Linked DNA regions of Homo sapiens: region 1 is linked to region 2. The links are contacts of gene promoters, found by promoter capture Hi-C in human tissues and cell types (Jung and others, 2019). All regions are on one chromosome and are shown on one strand. The core of a region is centred on a gene start or on the middle of the fragment in contact, and the rest is flanking DNA. Distances in the headings are between cores, read along the strand shown.

Region 1 (6,280 bases), core at 408-2,907, 1.4 Mb after region 2:
ATTTAGATCCATGGATTCAGCTACACTGCCGACCCCAGAGCAGACAGCAGGGTTAGGCTGGCCATGTCTTTGTCTATTCACAGGAAAGAGAAGGCAGGGGGTCAGACAAGCCAAGGATTATGGAACTATACATGTAGGCAGCTGGGCAGGATTTAGAGGCAGTCTTAGTTTAGACACACGAGGTAAAGTCACCAGTTCGCACTTGTCTTTGTTAAAAAGCACGATAAAATTCTAAGAAACAAATAGCACCCTGAGCAGTAATGTTTCCTGTCTGCATAATCTTTGCCCAAATTATTTCCCCAAATTGAACTGATAGGAACAAGTGAAGTAACCATCTTCAGCTGGTCATATGTGCTACTGGAGTTCTCCAGTCTTCCCTGCCTGCTTCTTTTGAAAAGGAGGTCATCATAATATCAATGTGAAAAACAACTTTTGATAGTAACCAAATCCAAATTGCTTCTCACCAGGTTGTGAGCATACATTGGAGAATTCAGAAATGCATACTGCATTTCTTCCTGTAAGAAAATGAATTGTGCCTGGCTTCCTTTTGAAATTCATACAGAAAAGCAAGCATTCGTCAAATCTGTCACATTTTCAATCTGTTGCACTTCCTAAATAGTTTTCACTGTGTCTAGTTTGGTGAAAAGCCATGATTGCCAACATTTGTCCCCAGGAGCCACCCACTTTACTCATAGGCCAAATAGGACTGCTATGAGCGTTGAGAGATAATCACTCCTGCTTCTTCCATTGATTAGAGCTGAAATTTTTAGTGCAGTATGGTTTAATAGTCAGTTGAAAGTGGGTATAGTGGGGAAGGGGATGGGGGAAGCTATAGTACTTGAGAAGTGATTTGCCAGGTCTGTTCAAAAGCAATGTGTTCAGTAAGCAGCCAGGCATATTTGACCTCCTCTGAGTTAAGGTTTCCTCCCAAGAACACTGGCATGGTGAATGTCAATAATTGTAAAGGGTCTGAGATTTTACCCTACTTGCAAGTTAACAAATTAGCCTGCCACCATTTCATGGTCAAAGTACTCCTAGATCAAAGGATTTAATTACTCGTGGAACAACAAGAAACATAAGCTTCATGTTTGCACGAGTTCCCCTTGCATTAGGTGGATGCTGCACTGCAAGTATCAAAGTCCCAAGGGGGGAAAGAAGTTAGCATACTTAAGAACGGAAAGAATACAAGTATGACTACAGCCTAGTCATCAAGTGGAGAAGTAGAATGATGAGATTAGCAAGATAAGCGGGAGCTAGATCTGCAGGGCCTGTGGATCATGACACGAAGTCGTGAATTTTATTCTAGAAGATGGAGAGCCATGAAACTCTGCAAAGTGGGAAATGCCATCATCTGATTTAGGCCTAAGGGAGATCATTGTGGTAGCAATATGAAGAAAAGATATAAGAAGGTCAAGAGTGAAAACTTTAGTCCAAATGAGAGTTGAGGGTGGCTTAGAGTAGGAGATGATAGAAGATACAAAGATGTAGATAGATTCAGGACAATGTGGAACTTGAACCAACAAGTCCTGTGCAGGGATTGATGGGGAAAGATTCTGCTGTGGGAGTTAAGGAAGAATTGAGGGTGATGTCTAGATTTCTGGTATGAAAAAAAAACAAACATACAAGAAGCAGATAGGAGATGAGGTATAGGCAGCCAGAGGAGCATCATAATAACTCCTTTTGAATAAAATATTTTTGAATTGTCTATATTTTGGCATATTAGAATTTGGAGTATATTTAAAGCTACGGGACTAGGCAAGATGACCCAGTCAATGAGCAGAGAGAAAAGATCAGAAAAATATCATGGATATGTGGGCAAAAATTTGGCAATAAGAGTAGACATCATGGTGTTTATTGTAAGAGAACAGTAGCCTAAAATCTATTAATAGGAGGCCGATTAAACAATGCTACGCCACCAATTTAGATTGTGTTCCATGTTGTATTTACTCACATAGAAAGTGACTCATAATTTTAAAAGGGTTACTAGGGTACATAGTTTGATCCCATTTTTCATTCAAGCAGCTCTGTACATGTGCATAAAAATTAGCTTAAAAGAGACATACATTAAAATATACACCAAAATATTAACTGTAGTTCTGAATGGTTATAGATTTTTCTGTTTCTGCATTTTCTAAATCTTCAATGAACATGTATCATTCATATAACAAGAGAAAAGCCAAGAAAAAATAATCCAGCTCCTCACAGCTCATCTTTGGGACTAAATCCTGCTTCTAGAGACTTGCAGGCAGGTATTAAGCTAAACCTCAATTCATCAGGACTGTCCAACTCTGTCTTACTTCTTAAGCATCATTTGTGTAGCCTGTAGTTCTGAACCTTGGCTACATATTAGAATCAGCTAAGGAACTTATATTTCTATGCCAGGGACCTACCCCTAAAGATTCTGACTTAAGTGAGCTGGAAAGTGGCCCAGGCATAACATTTGTGTGCCCTTGATAATTCTGATGGGCAGGAAGTGTTGGGAACTACTAGTAAGCCCTAGCTTGGTCTCCAAAGCACTGTTCTGAAGTTTTAGAAAGGAAAAGCAGCTAGAGAAGGAATAATTGTGGAAGAAAGCAGACCTGGAAATAATGGATGAGAGAGAAATTAATGAAGACATAAAATTCCAAGAGGAAAGGTTGAGAACTCCTCCCACCTCAAAATAGCTTTTATTTCACACCAGGCACTAGTTAGCTGCAAAAATCTGATCCCTGCACAGAAGTTGATAATAAGAGGCCGTTCACAAAGCTGCTGGAGCAGGTGTTTCCTCCCGAAAGGGGGCGGGCCAGAACTGTAAATCTCATTTTGGAAGTTTCGAGCCCTGGGGATACTATTCTGTGGCGCTGCCACTCTAGCTGCCATCTGGACTGAATCTCAGCTCCCGTTTCTGGGGCAGCCCTCGATCCAACTGGCAGCCCCACCGTTTGCATTCTTGCACAGTGTGTGAATGGAGGGGGAGAGCCTTTGGCTAGGCAGCCCTGGGGTCTCCTTCCCTCAAAAGATTCGCCAGTGATCCTTGCCCTGCTGGCTTCCTCTTTAATTGGCACACACTGTTGGGGAGCAATTGAGATTAAATGGCCGCTTGCTGGGTGGCTCTGAGAAACGGGCTGTACTTCTAGGCATGTGTGGCCCTGTTTGGAGCATTTGTTGTATCCTAGGATTGAATGAAGCAACTGCTGCTGCTGAAGCTCACTCGCAGGGTGTTCCTGCAAGCCACGTGAAAGCAGGCTCTTCATTTTGGTTTGCAAAACAGCCTCCAAAGCCAAATCTGCTCATACTGGAGCCATTCTAGACACAGGGATGTCACGAGGAGAAACTAGGAGGTACAGAAAGAACTGGGCAGAAGGAAATTTAGGGCTATGAGTCAAGAAAATGGGTTATACAATTGCCGGGTTGCCCTGAACAGCCAGAGAGAGATAGGGAAAGACTCCACTCCACGGAGAGAACTCCCAGAGGTCTTGCAATTCTCTAATGATCCTGGGCAGCTTCTGGGGCAAAGGTCATCCCTGGAGAATCCAGAAATTCTGTATTCTGGATGCCAAGGCCTAAACCTGGACTTGCTGACTATGACTTCAGGCATGCTGCTCAGCTTACTGAGTCTTCAGATCACAGGTTCTGCAAAAGGGTGACTGGGAAGCATGGGAAATCAAAGGTGGGCTTACATCTTCTCCTGCGAGTGTTCTCAAAAGTGAGCTTCAGGAGTCCCGTTCAGCCCCATAGTGCAGAATGGATTGGGAGACCTCATTTTGATGGAGCCCATGGAAATGCCAATCTCTTGGCAAACCAGAACCCGACCATTTCCTTTCACCTGCGCAGTCACACCCTAGCCTCCTGTGAACTCCCTGGTCTCATCTCCTACTACTTTCTCTCTTGTTTACTTTGCCCCCTCCTACACCCTTGCCCCAGGGCTTTTGTACTTGCTTCCCTAAATCAGATAAATATTGGAGAGTAAATTGAACTTCTAGCAGAAAATTTCTAGATGAAATTAGCTGACAGGGCCAATTGCTTTTTAATGCCCTTTCTAGTTTTTATTACGTAGATGACATGGTTTTCACTTCCTTCTCTTTGTATCCAGTTTAGCCCAATGTAAGGCAATCATTATATTGAAAGGGGCAGCATCCAGGACAATCAGCCTGTAAGAGGCAAGGTGACTACACAAGAAACTAGAGCAAGGGGCTCAGACTCAGGTCTAGCAGGTAGAAGAGCAAAGCAGGCAGGTGCAGACAGTGCCAAGCTGGAGACAGCGGGACCCACCTAAGGAAGGTGGCTGCTGCAGCACCAGCCAACTATTGTTCCATGGGAATGTGGGTCTGTTGTTCCTAGATATGACTTTTCAGTGCAAACCAGAAGCCCAAGTTTATGTGAAATGCCCGTTGTTAAATGCTGACAATGAATTCAAATTAAAAACAAGAAGTTTCATGGGTCAAACTATATCTTCAGGACAGATTCAGCAAATAGGCTGTCAATTTGTGATCTCTGAATTGATGCTGAGCAGGTTAAAGAGAATAAGCAATGAGGGAAAGGGAGTTCTATAAAATGCTGGATGAGGAATGATGATCTCTGGAGCTTGAGGTCAGGGAATAAAGGTGTCAGAAAGGAGACAAGTCTCAAGATCAAGAGAGGGACTGAAGCACATGACTCAGAGCTGCAGGCAGGTGTGTATATGCCTGCCAAACCTGGGGCCAGCACAGCAAAGGCGTGATGGTGAGACTCCAGGCAATGTGCAGTCCAGCCACCTGAAGGACAGAAAGCACACTGGCATGGCAGGATATTTCATCTTCTTTTCTTCCTGTGTTTTGGCCTTTCAAGAACGTAGGCAGTCCTGTGTTCATTGCCTCAAGACAGAAGTCACAGTAACCTAGGACTCTACAGGGCTTGTTTCTAAAGTTTAAATCCCCTGGGGTCAGGGTAGAATTCTCAAGAAAGACATTTTGGTCAGAAAAATGAAGGAAATAGCCTAAAAAGAGTTTTTCTGGGATGTGGAAGTAAAAACAAGCAAAGATGGCTGGGGGTCCCATGGTGGAGGCAACCTGTTTCCCATTTCCCAGGAAAAACCACCTGAGAAGCAGCCAGACCTCAGAAAGGAAAGGGCTGTGGAACATCCAGGCAGATGAGATACTACATGGCTGTGCTGATAAATTCCCAGCTACAGCCTGAAAGCAGAAGAAAGCCCCCAGGACACTAGATATCACAGTAGGAAAATGGGTTAACAAATGCTCATAGCCAGGGAGAGCCCTCCCAATACCTTGGCTCCCCCAAGAAAAAGGGAAGTTACAGTTTCCTAAAGCCCAGTGGCGGGAAGGCTCAAAATGAAAGCTGTTTCATTTTTATACACCTGGGTTTGTAGACTGAGATTCACACTGGCTACTTTAGAGAGCCACCAAAGATGAAGACAGGTCAACAGCAGTGTCTGAATTTGATTCTAAGCTCTTCTTCCAATGGCCACTGTGGATGGCAGTCTCTACGATGGTCCCCAACAATCCCCACCTCCTGGTATTCACACCCTTGCAAAATCCCCTCCCACACTGTACCAGGATTGGCCTGTGTCTGACAGCATATGGCAGAAGGGACTAGGTTATAAAAAGACTGGCTTCTGTCCCTCACTCTTTTTCTTGAATCAATTCCTCTGGGAGAAGCAAGCTTCCATGTAGTCAACAGCTCTGGATAGGCTCCAGTGGTAAAGAACCGAAGCCTCCAGACAACAACAAGTGAGGAGTTGAGGCCTGCAGTCCAACCGCCTGCAAGTAACTGAGGCCTAGCTAATGCCGAGGTGAGTGAACTCGGAAGCAGACTCCATTCTCACTTCAGGCTTTAGATGAGTACAGTGCCAGGTGACAGTGTGGCTGCAGGCTCATGAAAATCTCTGAGCCAGAGCCCAATGGCTAAGCCACTCCCAGATTCCTGACCCACAAAAGCTCTGTGAGATAATAAATGTTTGATGTTTTAAGCTGCTATGGGGTAATTTATAACATAGCAATAGAAAATGAATTCACCCCCACATCAACATATGAAGGCGATACTGAACCTAGTAAATTAAGAATTAGATGACTGGTCAGGAGCAAAGTACAGAAGCTTTGCCCTTTTTCTGTCAAATGATGCCACCAACCCTTTGCCGGAGGAACTGATTCAGGAGACAGGAGTCAAGTGAATAGTCAGAGGTGCTGAGCCACACTCCGTACTAGGCACTCCTAGGCATTACAGAACAAACTTTGCACAGAAATCATATGTCAGAAGAGGGAGTTCTGCCATCACAGCTTACAGCAGCTGAGAAGCTAAGAGTTCC
Region 2 (6,664 bases), core at 586-3,085:
GCATTACACATTTAGCAAAACTTGTAGACCTGTGCAACCTTAAGCAATGAACACTGGCCAGGTGTGATGACTCACACCTGTAATCTCAACACTCTACGAAGCCAAGGTGGGAGGACCACTTGAGGCCAGGAGTTTGAGACCAGCTTGGGCAACATAGCAAGACCATAGCTTTACAAAAAATAAAAAAATTAGCTGGGCATGGTGGCATGTGCCTGTGTTCCCAGTTACTCAGGAGGCTGAGGTGGGAGGATTGCTTGAGCCCAGGGGTTGGAGGCTACTGTGAGCCATGATCATGCCACCGCACTCCAGCCTGGGTGACAAAGTGAGACCCTGTCTCAATACAGCAGCAGCAACAACAACAACAGATGAACTCTAATGTAAACTATGGACTTTAGTTAGTAATAACATACCAGTATAGTTGTATCAATGATAACAAATGTACCACACCAATGCAATGTGTAAGATGTTAACAACAGAGGAAATGGGAATACGGAATACATAAAGGAACTGTTTTTTGTTTAATGCTTCTAAAAATCTGCTTTAAGTCTATTTTCTTTTAAAAGTAAAGGCTAAGCCGGGCGTGGTGGCTCATGCGTGTAATCCCAAAACTTTGGGAGGCTGAGGTGGGTGGATCACCTGAGGTCAGGAGTTTGAGACCAGCCTGGCCAACATGGTGAAACCCCATCTCTACTAAAAATACCAAAATTAGCCAGGCATGGTGGCGGGCGCCTGTAATCCCAGCTACTCGAGCCCAAGGCAGGAGAATCGCTTGAACCTGGGAGGCAGAGGTTGCAATGAGCCAAGATCGCGCTACTGCACTCCAGCCTGGGCGATAGAGCGAGACTCCGTCAAAAAAAAAAAAAAAAAAAAAAAGTAATAATAAAAAAAATAAAGTAAAGGCTAGAGCTGCATGGAAAGAACTCTTGGCTCAGGTAGGACTTAGAGCCAGGGAGTAGGAAGAGTGGCATGCACTCTGGAGTCCTATGAGGAAGCAAGATCCCACAGGATATGGGACCATAGGTGACAGGGACCAGTGAGGAAGGATTGAGACCCCTTGCCCCATCGGCCTGCCACTTTTTTCATTGTTTTTCTCTTCCCCTCTCCTTCTCTTTCTTCTTTTCTTTTACTGTGTTCTTTTCGAGTATTCTCAACAACAGTCTAGGGGCCTGGAGGTGTGGGGAGGCCGCCCACGGATGCCTAGTTTGGCGCTCTGTGCACTGCTAGCATCTTCGTAGGGATGGGTTTGGGATGGGAGCGGGGTGATGCTCTGGTTCTCAGGGCTGGACTCCGGGCTTGGAGGGGAACTCCCTCTTGCGAGTCCCCAGTCCTGTGGGGGCTGGGCCTGGAAGGGGAACTGGGAGATGCGGAAGTGCACGCCGTCGGGTCGCATCTTTCAGTGCGGTGCGAGAGGGCCCAGTGGCAGAGGCCCAGCAAACAGCGCTTGTCAGGCGGACCTGAGTTCGAGTTCTGACTGTGCCATCTACGCTATGACTTTGGGGCAGGCGACCCACCCTCTGCGCCTCATTAACCCATGTACTGCATGGAAAATAAGCGTCTGCCTGGGTTAGAAGAGGGCTGTGTGTGAAGATTCAAAGGACGAAGGGGAAGAGTCCTCGCTGGGCGCCCAGCACGCGGTGAGCGCCCGGCCAGTGGCAGCGCGCTCGGGCTGGGGTTGCGCTCGGGCTCGGTTCCGCGCCCCCGGCAGCTGCGGGCTTTCCCAGCTCCGGCCCGGGCCCTTCCGCTCTCCCCGGCACTTACAGCGGTCTCTCTCCACTTCTCCCTTCTAGGACCGCGGCGGCTAGGTCACCTCCTCCGGACGCCGACACGCGCTGCCCTGGCAACCGTCACCAGGGAAACAAGCGACGTCACTTGCGCGTTTTCAACGCTACTCTACGGGGGCCGAGGGGGCGCCAAGAGTTCTGAAAGTGACAGAGGCGCTGATGGCGCGCTGGGCTGGATCCAAGCGAGCACGATCTCGAGTGCGCTGGAGATTTTAAATCTTCTGGAGTATATTTTTAAAAAAGTTTTGTGGACCAAACGTTCTGCACAGAGATGCCCATTCCGCTCTCCTGTTGGGGAGTTAAAAAGCGAACGATCTCACCATGAAATTTAAAGTAGCCATTCAGATATATTTGAAAAATGTAAAACAGTGTGGGGAAAGGCCATGTTATGATGGTGAGTGAAGGAAGCAGGACGCAATATAGCAATGCTAAATAAATAAAGTTGTGTTTATTTCAAACTAGGCACTAAAACAAGACCGAAATAGAAATATTAAAAGTGGTTATATTTGGGTGGTGGAATAGCAGTGCTGTGTTTTTATTTTTACACTTTAGAGAATTTTTAAAATAATGAACATCGTTTATTTTCATAAAGGAAAATACTTGTTTTTTTTTTTTTAAATGGCACCTTCCAATGTAAGACACTACTATATTTCAGGGCAATATGGGGGTGGGAGGCAAATTTCTAGGAAAGATGATTCAAGGGAGATTTCTTTCTATCTATCTATCTATCTAATCTATCTATCTATCTATGATAGAGTCTCGCTGTGTCGCCCAGGCTGGAGTGCAGTGGTGCGATCTCAGCTCATTGCAACCTCCATTTCCCAGGTTCAAGCGATTCTCCTGCCTCAGCCTCCTGAGTAGCTGGGATTACAGGCACCCGCCACCACACCTGGCTAATTTTTTTATTTTTAGTGGAGACGGGGTTTCACCATGTTGACCAGGCTGGTCTTGAACTCCTGACCTCAGGTGATCCGCCCACCTTGGCCTCCTAAAGTGCCGGGATTACAGGCGTGAGCCACAGCTCCTGCCCAAATATTTATCCAGGACTTCATAATTTGAAAACCTTGGCAGTTGTTTTTCTATTTTTTTTCCTCATAAGGTGAATGAATACCCATCCCATAGACATGCATACATAAGATACGGCACTAGACTGCCATCAGCACTGCAGGTATAAACCCGAAGTTTCCTGATAAAGGAAAAATGGATCTTTCCCGTTGGTCTCCAATTGCTGCCTGGTGAGCTGAGGGTGGGAGACGTATAATATACAGGTGGCAGCAAAGAGAGACAGGATAAAGAGTAGGATTCAGGTAGATGTGAGCCTCAAAGGATTAGGGTTTTTTTTAAATGGTGTGTGTAGTGGGGAGTATCATTCGTTTGCCTCATGACCACGATGGGACTATGTGGCATAGGAAAAGGAATAGCCAGGTCTACTTAGAGGGCTTCTGGAAAGCATGGATCCTAGCAGAAAGCCAGGTTTTCATTAAAATAAGAACATGCTGTGAGAAAATTAAGGATGCAAGAGAATTTCAGAACCGACATTCTAGAATGTATGTATTAGAAAGTTTGGGAAAGGGGTAACATTTGCTCCAGCAATCCAAGGATTATTTTTGACGAGGATATCATTTTTGCAGTAACCCATTTTTTAAAAAGCAGGGATGATTTTCCTCTAGGTTTGTTACTTTTCCACGGTCACCACTAAGGCTCTCATGCCATTTTTTTTTTCTGCCCAAAATTCTTTTGAGAATTTTCTTTAGTTTATAAGCTTGACATTTTATCATCCAAGAAGCTGGCGAATCCAATCTGGGTCACCAGTATTTCCTCATGTACAGTATACAGATGTTTGTTAATTCCAGCCCACTTTGTTTCTCTAGCCAGAAGTATCTGTAGGACACTGCCCTTTGTTTTTTGCTTTTTAATTTGAAATTATATTGAGATTTTTATAGAATCACATGCAGTTGTAAAAAATAATAGAGATCCCCTGTATACTTTTCCAGTTCTCCACAATGATATTTTGCAGAACTTTAGTATAATATTACAACCAGGATATTGACATCGATACAACCTACTCCTCTTAGATTTCTCCAATTTAACTGTACTTTTCTTTTGATTTATCACGTGTCAGTTTGTGTATCCATGACCATCAAGATATCAAATACTAGCCGGGCATGGTGACTCATGCACGCCTATAATCCCAGCATTTTGGGATGCTGAGGCAGGCAGATCACTTGAGGCCAGGAGTTCAAGACCAGCCTGGTCAACATGGCAAAATCCTATATCTACTAAAAATAACAAAAATTAGCCAGGCATAGTGGTGCTTGCCTGTAATCCCAGCTACTTGGGAGGCTGAGGCATGAGAATCGCTTGAACTCAGGAAGTGGAGGTTGCAGTGAGCTGAGATCGCGCCATTACACTCCAGCCTGGGCGACAAGAGTGAGACTCTGTCTCAAAAAAAAAAAAAGATACCAAATACTATCACAAGGATCTCTCTGTTGTGATTTTATGACTATGTACACTTCCCTCCCTCCTCCTGCCCTAGTCCCTAACCCTTTACAACCACCAGTCTGCCCTCCATTTCTAAAATTTTGTCATTTCAAAAATGTTATATAAATGAAATAACTCAGCATGTACACTTTTTAGGATGGATTTTTTTTTTTTTTTACTCAGAACAATTCCTTGGAGATTCATCCAAGTTGTTGTGTGTATCAATAATCCATTCCTTTTTATTGCTGAGTAGTTCTAGTATGAATGTACCAGTTTGTTTAACCATTTACCCACTGAAAGACATCTGGGTTGTTTCCAGTTAGGAGCAATTATGATTCAGCTGCTATAAACATTCATGTATAGGTTTTTGTGTGAACATAAGTTTTCATTCCTATGGAATAAATGCCCAAGAGTGCAATTGCTGTGTAGTATGGTAACTGCATATCTAGTTTTAGAAGAAATTGCCAAACCTGTTTTCCAGAGTGACTGTTCCACTTTACATTCTTACCAGAAATGTTTAAGTGACACAGTTTCTTCACATCCTTGCCAGCATTTGATGTCACTATTTTTATTTTAGTCATTTTAATAGGTGTGTAGTGATATCATTGTGGTTCTAATGTACGTGACGGATAATGATATTGAACATCTTTTTCATGTGCTTATTTGTCATCTGTATATTTTCTTTGGTGAAGTGTCTGTTCATGTCTTTTGCCCAATTTCTAACTGTCGAGTTTTGAGAATTCTTTATATATTCTATATACTAGTCCGTTGTTGGATACGTAGTTTGCAAATACTTTCTCCGAATCTGTAGTTCATCTTTTAATCCTCTTCACTTGGGCTTTCACAGAACAAAAGGCTTTGATTTTGACAAGGTCCAATTTATCAATTCCTTCTTTAATGGATTGTGCTTTTGATTTCAAGTCTAAGAAAGAACTCTTTGCCTAGCCCTGGGTCCCAAAGATTTCCCCCCATTTTTATAAAAGTGTTAGAGTTTTATGCCCATGATTTATTTTGATGTAATTTTTATATAAAGGTATGAAATTTAGATCAAGGTTCTTTTTTGCTTTTTTGCCTATGGTGTCCAGTTGTTCCAGCACCATTTGTTGGAAAGCTATGCTTCCTCCATTGAATTGCTTTTGCACCTTTGTCAAAAATCAGGTTAGCTATCTCAACAACAAAACCCAATTCAAAAATGGGCAAAGGACTTCAATAGACATTAATCCAAAGAAGATATACAAATGGCAAATAAGCACATGAAAACATGCCCAACATCACTAACCATTAGAGAAATGCAAACCAAAACCACGAGATACCATTTCACACCCATTAGGATGGATATTATCCAAAAAATGGAAAATAACAAGTGTTTGCCAGGATGTGAAGAATTTGGAACCCTTATGTAGAGCTAGTGGGAATGTAAAATGGTATATCCACTGTAGAAAACAGTTTGGTGGTTCCTCAAAAAGTTAAACATTGAATTACCGTATGATTTACAATTCCACTTCTAAATATATGCCCGAAAGATTTGAAAGAAGGGACTTGGCCAGACACAGTGTCTCATGCCTGTAATCCCAGCCCTTTGGGAGGCTGAGGTAGAGGACTGCTTGAGGCCAGGAACTCGAGACCAGCCTGGTCACCATAGCGAGACCTTGTCTCTACAAAAAAAGTAATAATAAAAAATAAAGAAGGGACTCAAACAGGTAATTGTATGCCAGTGTTCATAGCAGCATTATTCACGATAGCCAGAAGGTAGAAACAACCCAAGCAACCTTCAACAGATGAATGAGTAAACAAAAGGTGGTATATATACTCCACAGAATATTCAGCCTTAGAAAAGAATGAAATTCTGAATTCTGGATGAACCTTGAAAACATTATGCTAAGTGAAATAAGCCAGACACAAAATGGCAAATATTGTACGATTCCATGTATATTAGGTACCTAGAATGAACAAATTCATAGAGACAGAAAGTAGAATAGAGGATGCTAGGGAGTGGAAGAACGGGGCAAGTAGAGAGGTTTGGGGGTTTTTGTTTGTTTTTGAGACAGGGTCTCGCTCTATCGCCCAGGCTGGAATGCAGTCGTGCAATGACAGCTCACTACAGCCTCAACCACCTGGGCTCAGGTTATCTTCCCACCTTAGCATCCCAAGTAGTTGGGACCACAGGCTCGCACCACCACACCGAGCTAATTTTTGTATTTTTTGTAGAGATGGTGTTTCGCCATGTTGCCCAGGTTGATCTCGAACTCCTGGGCTCAAGCGATCTGCCTTGACCTCCCAAAGTGCTAGGATTATAGGTGTGAGCCACCACATCCAACCAGAAGTTATTCTTAAAGGGCATGGAGTTTCTGTTTGGGCTGATGAAAAGACTTTAGAGGTGGATGGTGGTGATGGTTACATAG

What was found. The method cuts DNA at HindIII sites, captures the fragments that hold promoters and counts their contacts. A contact is called where the count stands out against the background at its distance.
Region 1: a fragment that was not itself captured here is called in contact with the fragment with the promoter of CCDC13 in region 2 in 1 of the 25 tissues and cell types used here (aorta).

The regions. Positions count from the first base shown.
Region 1 is chr3:44,181,623-44,187,902 of GRCh38, forward strand. No RefSeq gene overlaps it. Among named protein-coding and RNA genes, the nearest start is that of TOPAZ1, 57 kb to the right of the region's middle. The HindIII fragment of the contact is 3,402 bases long and covers 1-3,358 here.
Region 2 is chr3:42,771,418-42,778,081 of GRCh38, forward strand. CCDC13 (coiled-coil domain containing 13) reads right to left here and starts at 1,836. Exons shown (of 16, transcript NM_144719.4): 1 at 1,759-1,836. CCDC13-AS2 (CCDC13 antisense RNA 2) reads left to right here. Exons shown (of 2, transcript NR_122070.1): 2 at 1,788-2,218. RefSeq lists a silencer at 1,557-1,716 and an enhancer at 1,847-2,016. The HindIII fragment of the contact is 11,501 bases long and covers 1-6,664 here.